2 separate regions of the Homo sapiens genome follow, and region 1 is linked to region 2. Evidence: promoter capture Hi-C in 16 types of primary human blood cells and fetal thymus (Javierre and others, 2016). All regions are on one chromosome and are shown on one strand. The core of a region is centred on a gene start or on the middle of the fragment in contact, and the rest is flanking DNA. Distances in the headings are between cores, read along the strand shown. Region 1 overlaps FDX1 (ferredoxin 1). Region 2 holds the start of SIK2 (salt inducible kinase 2).

What was found. Contacts are between HindIII fragments. The CHiCAGO score rates a contact against its expected background, and 5 or more counts as called.
Region 1: a contact is called between a fragment that was not itself captured here and the fragment with the promoter of SIK2 in region 2, in 1 of 17 cell types (total B cells). The highest score is 5.5, in total B cells.

The regions. Positions count from the first base shown.
Region 1 is chr11:110,431,223-110,435,685 of GRCh38, forward strand. All of the region lies in intron 1 of FDX1 (ferredoxin 1), which reads left to right. Among named protein-coding and RNA genes, the nearest start is that of FDX1, 3.5 kb to the left of the region's middle. The HindIII fragment of the contact is 2,203 bases long and covers 2,113-4,315 here.
Region 2 is chr11:111,601,094-111,605,430 of GRCh38, forward strand. SIK2 (salt inducible kinase 2) reads left to right here and starts at 1,356. Exons shown (of 15, transcript NM_015191.3): 1 at 1,356-1,605. The coding sequence starts at 1,471. RefSeq lists an enhancer at 742-881 and silencers at 972-1,411, 1,962-2,121. The HindIII fragment of the contact is 10,147 bases long and covers 1-4,337 here.

The DNA.
Region 1 (4,463 bases), core at 1,964-4,463, 1.2 Mb before region 2:
GTTCTTGGGCATATTTGTTTTTCAAAGACACTCCTTAGATATACTAGAGATACAATTTACACATAATTTTTACCAACATGGTGGCGATTTATATAATGCAGATCTCTCGACAGCTCTTTGACCGCATGATGTAGGGTAGCAGGAATCGAGAACTAGAGGGAGAGTGTGTTGGATTTGTACGCTGCTTTGTCTAGTTTCTTTTTGAGGTCTCTGAGAGCAGGGTCTAAGACTTTCAGTCATCTTTTCCCCACTAATCCCGTTATCTAGTGGGTGCTCCATACATTTTTGTTGTGTGAACTTTGGGGGAAATCAGGGAGAAGGCAAGCCAGATTTATTTGTTCCTGTTTCCTCTGCACTTCCCCCCCTGTCTTTGACCAGTGTGGGTACCTTGCTTTCTGTTATACAATGGATGAGTTTTGGACAACTGAATCAATTGGGACAGATATTGAACATGCTTGTGTAACTGGTATAAGGGAACATGAATGTTTTTGTAGTAATTGGGAGTTATCTTTCTCAGATTTGTTTTTTGGATTTGGATATGTCAGGTTGTTTTAAAGGGGAGCACGTCTATTTCCTCATAATCCTGCTGCCCTCTTTATTGGCACAATTTCTATTCATGGTCTTATCATTCCTCTTACAGACTTTGGAGCTACAACTGGATTTTCCAGTTCTTACTGTGTTAATGAGACTTGTGCTGTAACTACCGTAACTACTAATCACATGTGGCTATTGAAGTTTAACATAATTAAAGGTAAATAAAATTAAAGATTCAATCTCGTAGTTACACTAGCCACATTTCGAGTTCTCAGTAGCCACATGTGGCTAGTGGCTACTGTATTGGACATTGCAAGTATGTGTAGAACATCTTTGTTATGGCACAAAGTTCTTATAGACAGACAGAGCAGTTCTAGAAACTGTAGTTCTGTCTTTGAAGTTTAACAACTCGATAAGCTATCAGTAATTGAGAGTCAGAAAAACTCCTTTTACTCTAAAATACCGTGACACAAGGGGGTTTGCAGTGATTCAGGTAGCAAAGATCTTTCACGTGTATTGTTTCGTATGACTCTTAAGACAATTCTATGAGGTAGGGAGGGTAGATAAATGGGAATAAAAATTTCATATTAAGTAGCTGGCAAAACTAGGACTAGAACTCAAGAAGTTTTTGCGGATTTTAAAAAAATTTTAAATTTCTATTTATTTTTAAAATTTCAGTAGTTTTGGGGGCACAGGTGGTGTTTGGTTAATGGGTTAGTTCTTTAGTGGTGATTTTGGAGGTGTTGGTGTACTCTTCACCTGAGTGCAGTGGTGCCATCATGGCTCACTGCAGCCTACACCTCCCAGGTTCAAGCGATTCTCGTGCCTCAGCCACCCGAATATCTGGGATTACAGGCGCGTGCCACCACACTCGGCTAAGTTTTGTAGTTTTAGTAGAGATGAGATTTCACTATGTTGACCAGCCTGGTCTGGAACCCCTGGCCTCAAGTAATCTGCCTGCTTCAGCCTCCCAAAGTATTGGGATTACAGGCGTGAGTGACCACTCCCAGCATAGGGTCTACATCTTCTGACTCTTAGGTTCCATACTCTTTCAACTTAAGAATTACATTTTTCTTTCGTTTCCGCCTCCTCTCCTCTTCTTTGGTAAACCTGTTAATACTCTTACTTGGCAGTTTTTTGTAGGGCTGTTTACCTTTAATACAGACCAACAGGTTGGGCTTCTTAGCAAAAGGGCTTGGTCTTTAAATAACAGTTATTAATCAGTGTGTGTTGAATTCTACTATGTGTTACGTATTTTGCATACATTGTCAGAACTATAAGATTAATGTTGTCCAATTTTATAGAAGAGGAGGCTGATGTAAGAGATTTCGAATTCCTTTGCTGTAAGCTTAGCTCTAGAGTGCTTCAGAAGAACAGCAACGCTGAAACCTCTGGCTTTCAGTAGTGTGTATAAATGATGGAATTCTTTCTAATGTGCTTCCTGTAGCTTTAGCTACCAGGCATTCGTTGATGTCAAATCTCTAGACTTCTCTGCTGGGCTCAGACCCATACCCATATTGCCATCTGGTGTTTGGACATTCTCATCTGGCTTTTTCATTATTAAATTCAGCAGGTCTAAGCTTCAACTTATTTCTGTCTTCCCCAAAGTTCCTTTGGTTCCTGTCTTAAACCTAGGTTAAATGGTACCACCTAATTGTGTGAGCTGGAAATCCCAATGTTTTTCTTTCCGCTTTTCAGTTTATCTTATGTAGATGGTCACTAAAACCTTTTGGTCTACCTCCTGGATGTCTGTTAAGTCACTGCATTCTCTGTCCCTGATTAGTTTATGCTGTTTTGATAACCTCCAAAGTGGCCTCCCTGCCTCTAGGGTATTTTCATTCTCAGCCATTGTACTTTGAAAAAAATGGCAGTTATTCATGTTGAAAATTATGAATAATATGTGGGAATACTAGTTTTAAAGCATGTTTTGGCTGTGAAAAGAAGTTGGAGAGCGCAGGCCCTTTTGAGGAACATTCTGGTACACACACACACACCCTTTTGATGAGTTTTAATGAATAGAATCCTGTTTTTTTTCCCAGTGTTATAATATTAGGGAGGGCATTATCCCAGTGGGGCTTCAGTTGCCTCATTTGTGAAATGGGATCACTGGACTTGATAACTTTCGAGATAGTTATGGCTCTGAAATTATTTAATTCTGAGTTTTACTTAAAGATTTGTTTGATGGGCTATTGCCATCTACTGGTAGTAATAAGAATAACAACTCATTATTTTAAGTTGAAGAGAATCTTTTCAAGTGTGAGGTAAAAATTAAAATGACCAATGGTGGAGGAATAAGGATCTAGTTTTTAGTATAATGGCTTCTCAAATTTTGGAGGGATGTTTGTGAGAAGTGAAGGAAATTTAAGTCAGCTAGCTGATAGTTAACATACTATCTTAAAAAAACATGTAAGGAGGTATTTATCTTACAGATTCAAACAAATAAACTTTTTCTAGTCCCTTTGATTTGTAAGTATACAATGTGGACTGAAATGAGATGTCAAATACGCAGAAAACTACTAAACAACATCTCTCAGCAGTAGTATTCTATGTAGCACTGGAAAAGCAATCGCCCTATTGATTTTTTTTTTTTTTTTTTTGGAGACAGAGTTTCACTCTGCCACCCGGGCTGGAGTGCAGTGGTTTGATCTCGGCTCACTGCAACCTCTGCCTTCCGGGTTCAAGCGATTCTCCTGCCTCAGCCTCCCGAGTAGCTGGGATTACAGGCATGTACCACCATGCCTAATTTTTGTATTTTTAGTAGAGACGGGGTTTCGCCATGTTGGCCAGGCTGGTCTTGAACTTCTGACCTCAGGTAATCCGCCCGCCTTGGCCTCCCAAAGTGTTGGAATTACAGGCGTGAGTCACCATGCTCGGCCATGATTTGCTTTTTAGAAGCTCACTACAACCCTGGTCTAGTCTTTTATGGACACATTCATGTTTTTCAGAGAGCTGTGTGATGACTTTTTTTGTTTTTTTTTTTTTTTTTTTTTTTGAGACAGGGCCTTGAGCTGTTGCCCAGGTTAGAGTGCAATGGTGTAATCACGGCTCACTGCAGCCCTGAACTTCTGGGATCGGGTGATCCACCTCAGCCCCATGAGTAGCTGGTACTATGGGCAAATACCACCATGCCTTTTATTTTTCATACACCTACAACCATCTCATTTTTATTTTTATTTTTTGTAGCAATAGGGTCTCTCTGTGTTGCTCAGGCTGGTCTCAAACTCCTGGGCTCAAGCAGTCCCCTGCCTCGGCCTCCCAAAGTGCTAGGAGTACAGGTATGAGCCACCACACTTGGCCTTTTCTTTTTTAAATGACAGGGTCTTGCTGTGTTGCCCAGGCTGGAGTGCAGTGGTGCAATCATATCCCATTGCAGCCTCTTCCTCCTCCTGGGCTCAAGGGATCCTCCCGTTTCAGCCTCCCAATTAGCTGGGACTACAGATCACATCACCACACCTGGCTAATTATTTTATTTTTTGTAAAGATGGGATCTTGCCATGTTGCCCAGGCTGGTCTCAAACTTCTGGCGTCAAACAATCTTCCCACTTCAGCTTCTCGAAGTACTGGGGTTACAGGTGCAAGCTACTGCACTGGCTTGTATGAGAGTAAAATAGAGTTCATGAGTGATAATAATTGCCAAATGTTTTATAACTGTGACTATTAGGGAGACATATACTGAGGCCACCAGGTGGCGTTGACCAGGTAGTCATTGCCATTTCCTGTAAGGTAGTAGAGCTTATTACCTGGTAGGTGGGTAGATATATATGCCTTTGATTTCCAAATAAGCTTTGGAAAGAAAAGAAAATACCTTCGGCTAGGCATGGTGGCTCAGGCCTGTAATCTCAGAGTTTTAGGAGGCCAAGTTGAGAAGATGGCTTGAGGCCAGGAATTTGAGACCAGCTTGAGCAACATGGTGGCACCCCGTCACTACA
Region 2 (4,337 bases), core at 106-2,605:
ACTACCACGCCCGGCTAATTTTTGCATTTTTAGTAGAGATGGGGTTTCACACAGGCTAGTCTTGAACTCCTGACCTCAGGTGATCCACCCGCCTCAGCCTCCCAAAGTGCTGGGATTACAGGCGTAAGCCACTAAGCCCGGCCCATTATTTATTCCTGATACTCAAACTGTCTCAGATTTGGTAAGGGGGGAGCACCTTCGAGCCATCTGCTTTCTTTTGACATATCTTCCTTGACATAGCCAAGAAATCTCCTTGCTTTAAGGAGCAGGATCTTTCAAGGGCATTTTATACTTTCCCTGTCTCTGCCCTCGAATGAGCCATCTCGCCACGGAGTCTGGCTCCTTTAGGTGGAGAATGGTATTTAGAAACCAAGATATAAAGGCATATGATACATCTCAAAATAGTGAGGTGTCACTGTCCCTGTTTCCTTGAGTCACATTTGGAAGCGTGGTGTGATTTATAATCCTACCTCGACTATTGCCTGTGTGACCTAGGCAATTCCCTTTATTCCTTGAGGTCTTCTTCGTCCTTTGGGGAAAAAAATTGGATTAGAGAAATATTTCTAAACTTTTTCAGAGTCACCAACGCGTTTGGGAATCTGACAGAAGCTACGGGTCCATCTCCCCAGAGACATGCTCACATAAGCAAAAACTGGCCTGTGTTTTAGGGGGTTCCAAACTCTGAAGCTCACATGAGGCTCCAAATCTCTGGATTAAGTGATCTCCAAGATCTCTTCAGCGCTGACATTGACATTCTGTGAGTCTATAAGCGACTGCACTGCTGTCAGAATGACTCCTCGGAGACATCAAAACGTGGAGGGTTTTATTATATATAGCAACGAGAAGAGAAAAGGACACAAAGAAAGGAGCCTGTGAGCAACGCATTGCTCAGCCACAGTTCTTTGCCGGTGCCAAATTTAGGACGCGCTGTACTTGTAGGTGAGAGGTTTTGGCGGGAAGGACCCCGGGTGGGCGGAGAACGCCGGGGCGGGGAAGGAGATCGCAGGCCGCATCCAGGTCTCTGCACCCCTCCGCACGGTCCGCCAGGGCTCGCTCTTGCCCTTCGCCTGGAAGGCCGAGGAACGGAGCGGGCCGAGCAGCGACCCCGCCCCTGGCAGCGGTGAGGCGGAGGGGCGAGGGGAGGGCGTCTGAGCCCGGAAGGAGCGCGCCGGCCAGGCTCGCGCCCCTCCCCGTGCGCCGTCCCCCACTCTCCAGCAGCCGACGTCGGCGGTGCTTCGGTCGCCATGGTGACCAATCCAGGCTCGGGCCCGCCCCCGCCCCCCTGCCCCGGCCCCCTGACGTCGGCGCACGTCAGCGGCGGCGCGCGCCTGGCTGGGCCCTGGGGAGCGGGAGGGAAGGAGCGAAGGAGCGAAGGAGCAAGCGGAGCGGCCGTCGCCCAAGCCAAGCCGCGCTGCCAACCCTCCCGCCCGCCCGCGCTCCTGTCCGCCGTGTCTAGCAGCGGGGCCCAGCATGGTCATGGCGGATGGCCCGAGGCACTTGCAGCGCGGGCCGGTCCGGGTGGGGTTCTACGACATCGAGGGCACGCTGGGCAAGGGCAACTTCGCTGTGGTGAAGCTGGGGCGGCACCGGATCACCAAGACGGAGGTGCGGCCCGGGGCTCGGCGGGAGCGTCCGAGGCGAGGGTTCGGGAGAGGAGCTGCTTACCGAGAGGGGCGGCCGCAGTGGTGGGACCGGGGAGACCCGAGAGGCCGCCTCACTGGCGGAGGCGAGCGGGCCTGGGACTGTGAGGACCCAGGAGGTGCAGGGGGTCGGTGAGCAGCGAAGGGATCGGGCCCGGGCACCCGGACCCGAGTGTCGTCCGACTGGAAACGCAACCAGCCGGGGCTTTGCTTTCCCCTACGCCACCCCCGGTGGCCACCCGGAATTTCGCCCAGAGCCCCCCACCCGGGCCGTGACCTGGTCTGTGGCCTCCGCTCCGGAGCCCAAGTTCCGCGTCTTCCCTGCTTTCGGCTGGGGGTGGGGTGGGAGGGGAAGTCTCGGTGTTCCCAGGCTGCGCCGTGAGAGACGTCGCCGGCCCGAGGAGGGGACCGCCTGCGCTTGGGCTCCGCGGATGGGGGATCGTGCGGCCCCCGTGACCCCGGCGCCCCTCCCCTGCCCGACGAGGAAGGGCCCCATGGCTGGGAATACCCCCACGGCCACTGTCCATCTCCTCTCCTTCCTTTTGGCCCAGGGTGTCTCTGATTTGGTGTCTGGCTAGCTTGATCTCTTGCCTGGGGCATTTCCATTTAATGCCCCAGACAATAGAACTGGTTAAAATGGTCATCTCTGCATTTGCACGGTGGGTGGATTGGTCTTCTACTTGTCTAGGGTTGTCACTGTACCAGGTGTGCATTCTGGCTGTAATACGCATTCTTTAAACCATATCAGATTCTGCCTCTACTCATAAAGCCCTCAACTGCTTCCTGACGGTGAATCCTGCACCCTCTTCATTGCACATTCTAATGCACCGCACATACTCTCTCACAAGTCTCTGTTCTTACCTAACCCGCCCCCCTTCCTTCCACTGCCTCAAGCTGCTCTCCTCAGGGTCTCTATTTTAAGACGTGCAAATTAAATACCTTAGAAGAACGGTAGAAACAAAACCATTCTTTAGAATAAAACCTAGTGGTTTTGACGTACTCTACTCTGCCTTATTGTAGTTCCTCCTGGAGTTTCATCCTTTTCCTGTTTGTTTGCCCTCCAGTTTTGGTCCTATTCTGCTTTTTCCCTTGTTAGTACGAATGTACTGGAGTTTGAGTGTAGAATAAAGTAGGACTTCTTTTCAGAATGACTTATGTAAGGCGAAGGGCACTTGCAAACGTGAGTGATTTTTGGAGTTGCAGTTGTACTTAGAAGTTTTGCTTAATCCCGTTTCCAAAAGGAAGGGGTATATGTCATTCTGTCTTCTTTACTTTTTGCCTTCCCCTGCTGGTCCTGAACCAGTCCAAATCTGACTTATCTTTTAGAATCAGGACCAAGGTCAGATATTTTCTTCTCACAGATTTACCAGTTAGCAATTTAGATTGTTTGTAATGATAATGATAACTTGACTATAGTGATATTGTTAAATCTTAATCTGATCCCAGCATTTTTTAAAATGAAGAAATTGGTTCCATTCCTCTGAAGAGCCATGGCCTATGCCATGCCATTTCCCTTTAAGTTACATAAAAGAAGGCATTTTAAATGCATGTTTTATGAGTCCTTGCTTAATGACTTTCTAAAAACAAACAAATTGTGAGTTATAGAGAGGTTCTACAAAACTTTTGAACTGTAGTATATCGTGTGGTTGAATTCCAAATCCATCAGTTCTTAATATTTTTTTCTCATCAGCTCTTACTGGGATTAATAGCAAGATTTAATTAAGTCATCTATTATTTATCAGGTCAAATTTAGTTAATACAGTAAGAGCTGCTTAAGTGGAGTGATTGACACTTTGAGGTTGACAATTCAAATGGTGTCCGTTTTAAACTAATATATCTTAAAGAGCTAGGGGGCACTATGGAGTAATACCGTGGTTTGGCTATCAGAGTGAGATCAATGCATTCATTTGTAATTGGAACAAGCACCGGTCAGATCGTGAAAGAGGACTTAGATCCTAAATCGTGTGTGTAGTATATATGTGTAAAATGATTTACGTTAAAAGCTAAATGTTTAGTCCGCAGAACCCATTTCCCTGTGCTTTTCTAAAGAAGCTGTTATTAACATATAAAAAGAAATAGTGTGAATTTGAGATGGGTGAGGGTATCTGTGGTAATTTGGTGGGTGTGATTGGAGATATTAAGGTAGAGAGGGATAAGTGAAATGTCAAAGCAATCTTTGAACAGAAAAGTTCTCTGGATCTCTAGGTTGTAAAGTTGCTCTGAATTTTTTTTTTTTTTTTTTGAGACGGAGCCTCGCTCTTGTTGCCCAGGCTGGCTGGAGTGCAGTGGTGCGATCTCGGCTCACTGCAACCTCTGCCTCCTGGGTTCGAGCGATTCTCCTGCCTCACCCTCCCAAGTAGCTGGGATTACAGGCGCTCACCACCATGCCCGGCTAATTTGTGTGTTTTTAGTAGAGACGGGGTTTCACAGTGTTGGCCAGGCTGGTTTCGAACTCCTGACCTCAAGTGATCCACACGCCTTGGCCCCACAAAGTGCTGGGATTACAGGCGTGAGCCACCGCGCCTGGCCCAATTGTTTCTTAAAGTATTCCATGGGAGTAACAATTCCATTGTTAATGATGTTTTTTACAGCAGTTATTTATCCTTATTCGTTCATTCACTGGATAAATGTTTGTGTGTTTTTGATAAATACAACTACCTTAAAAACTATAAGATGTTTAATTAAAACTTTTGTTTT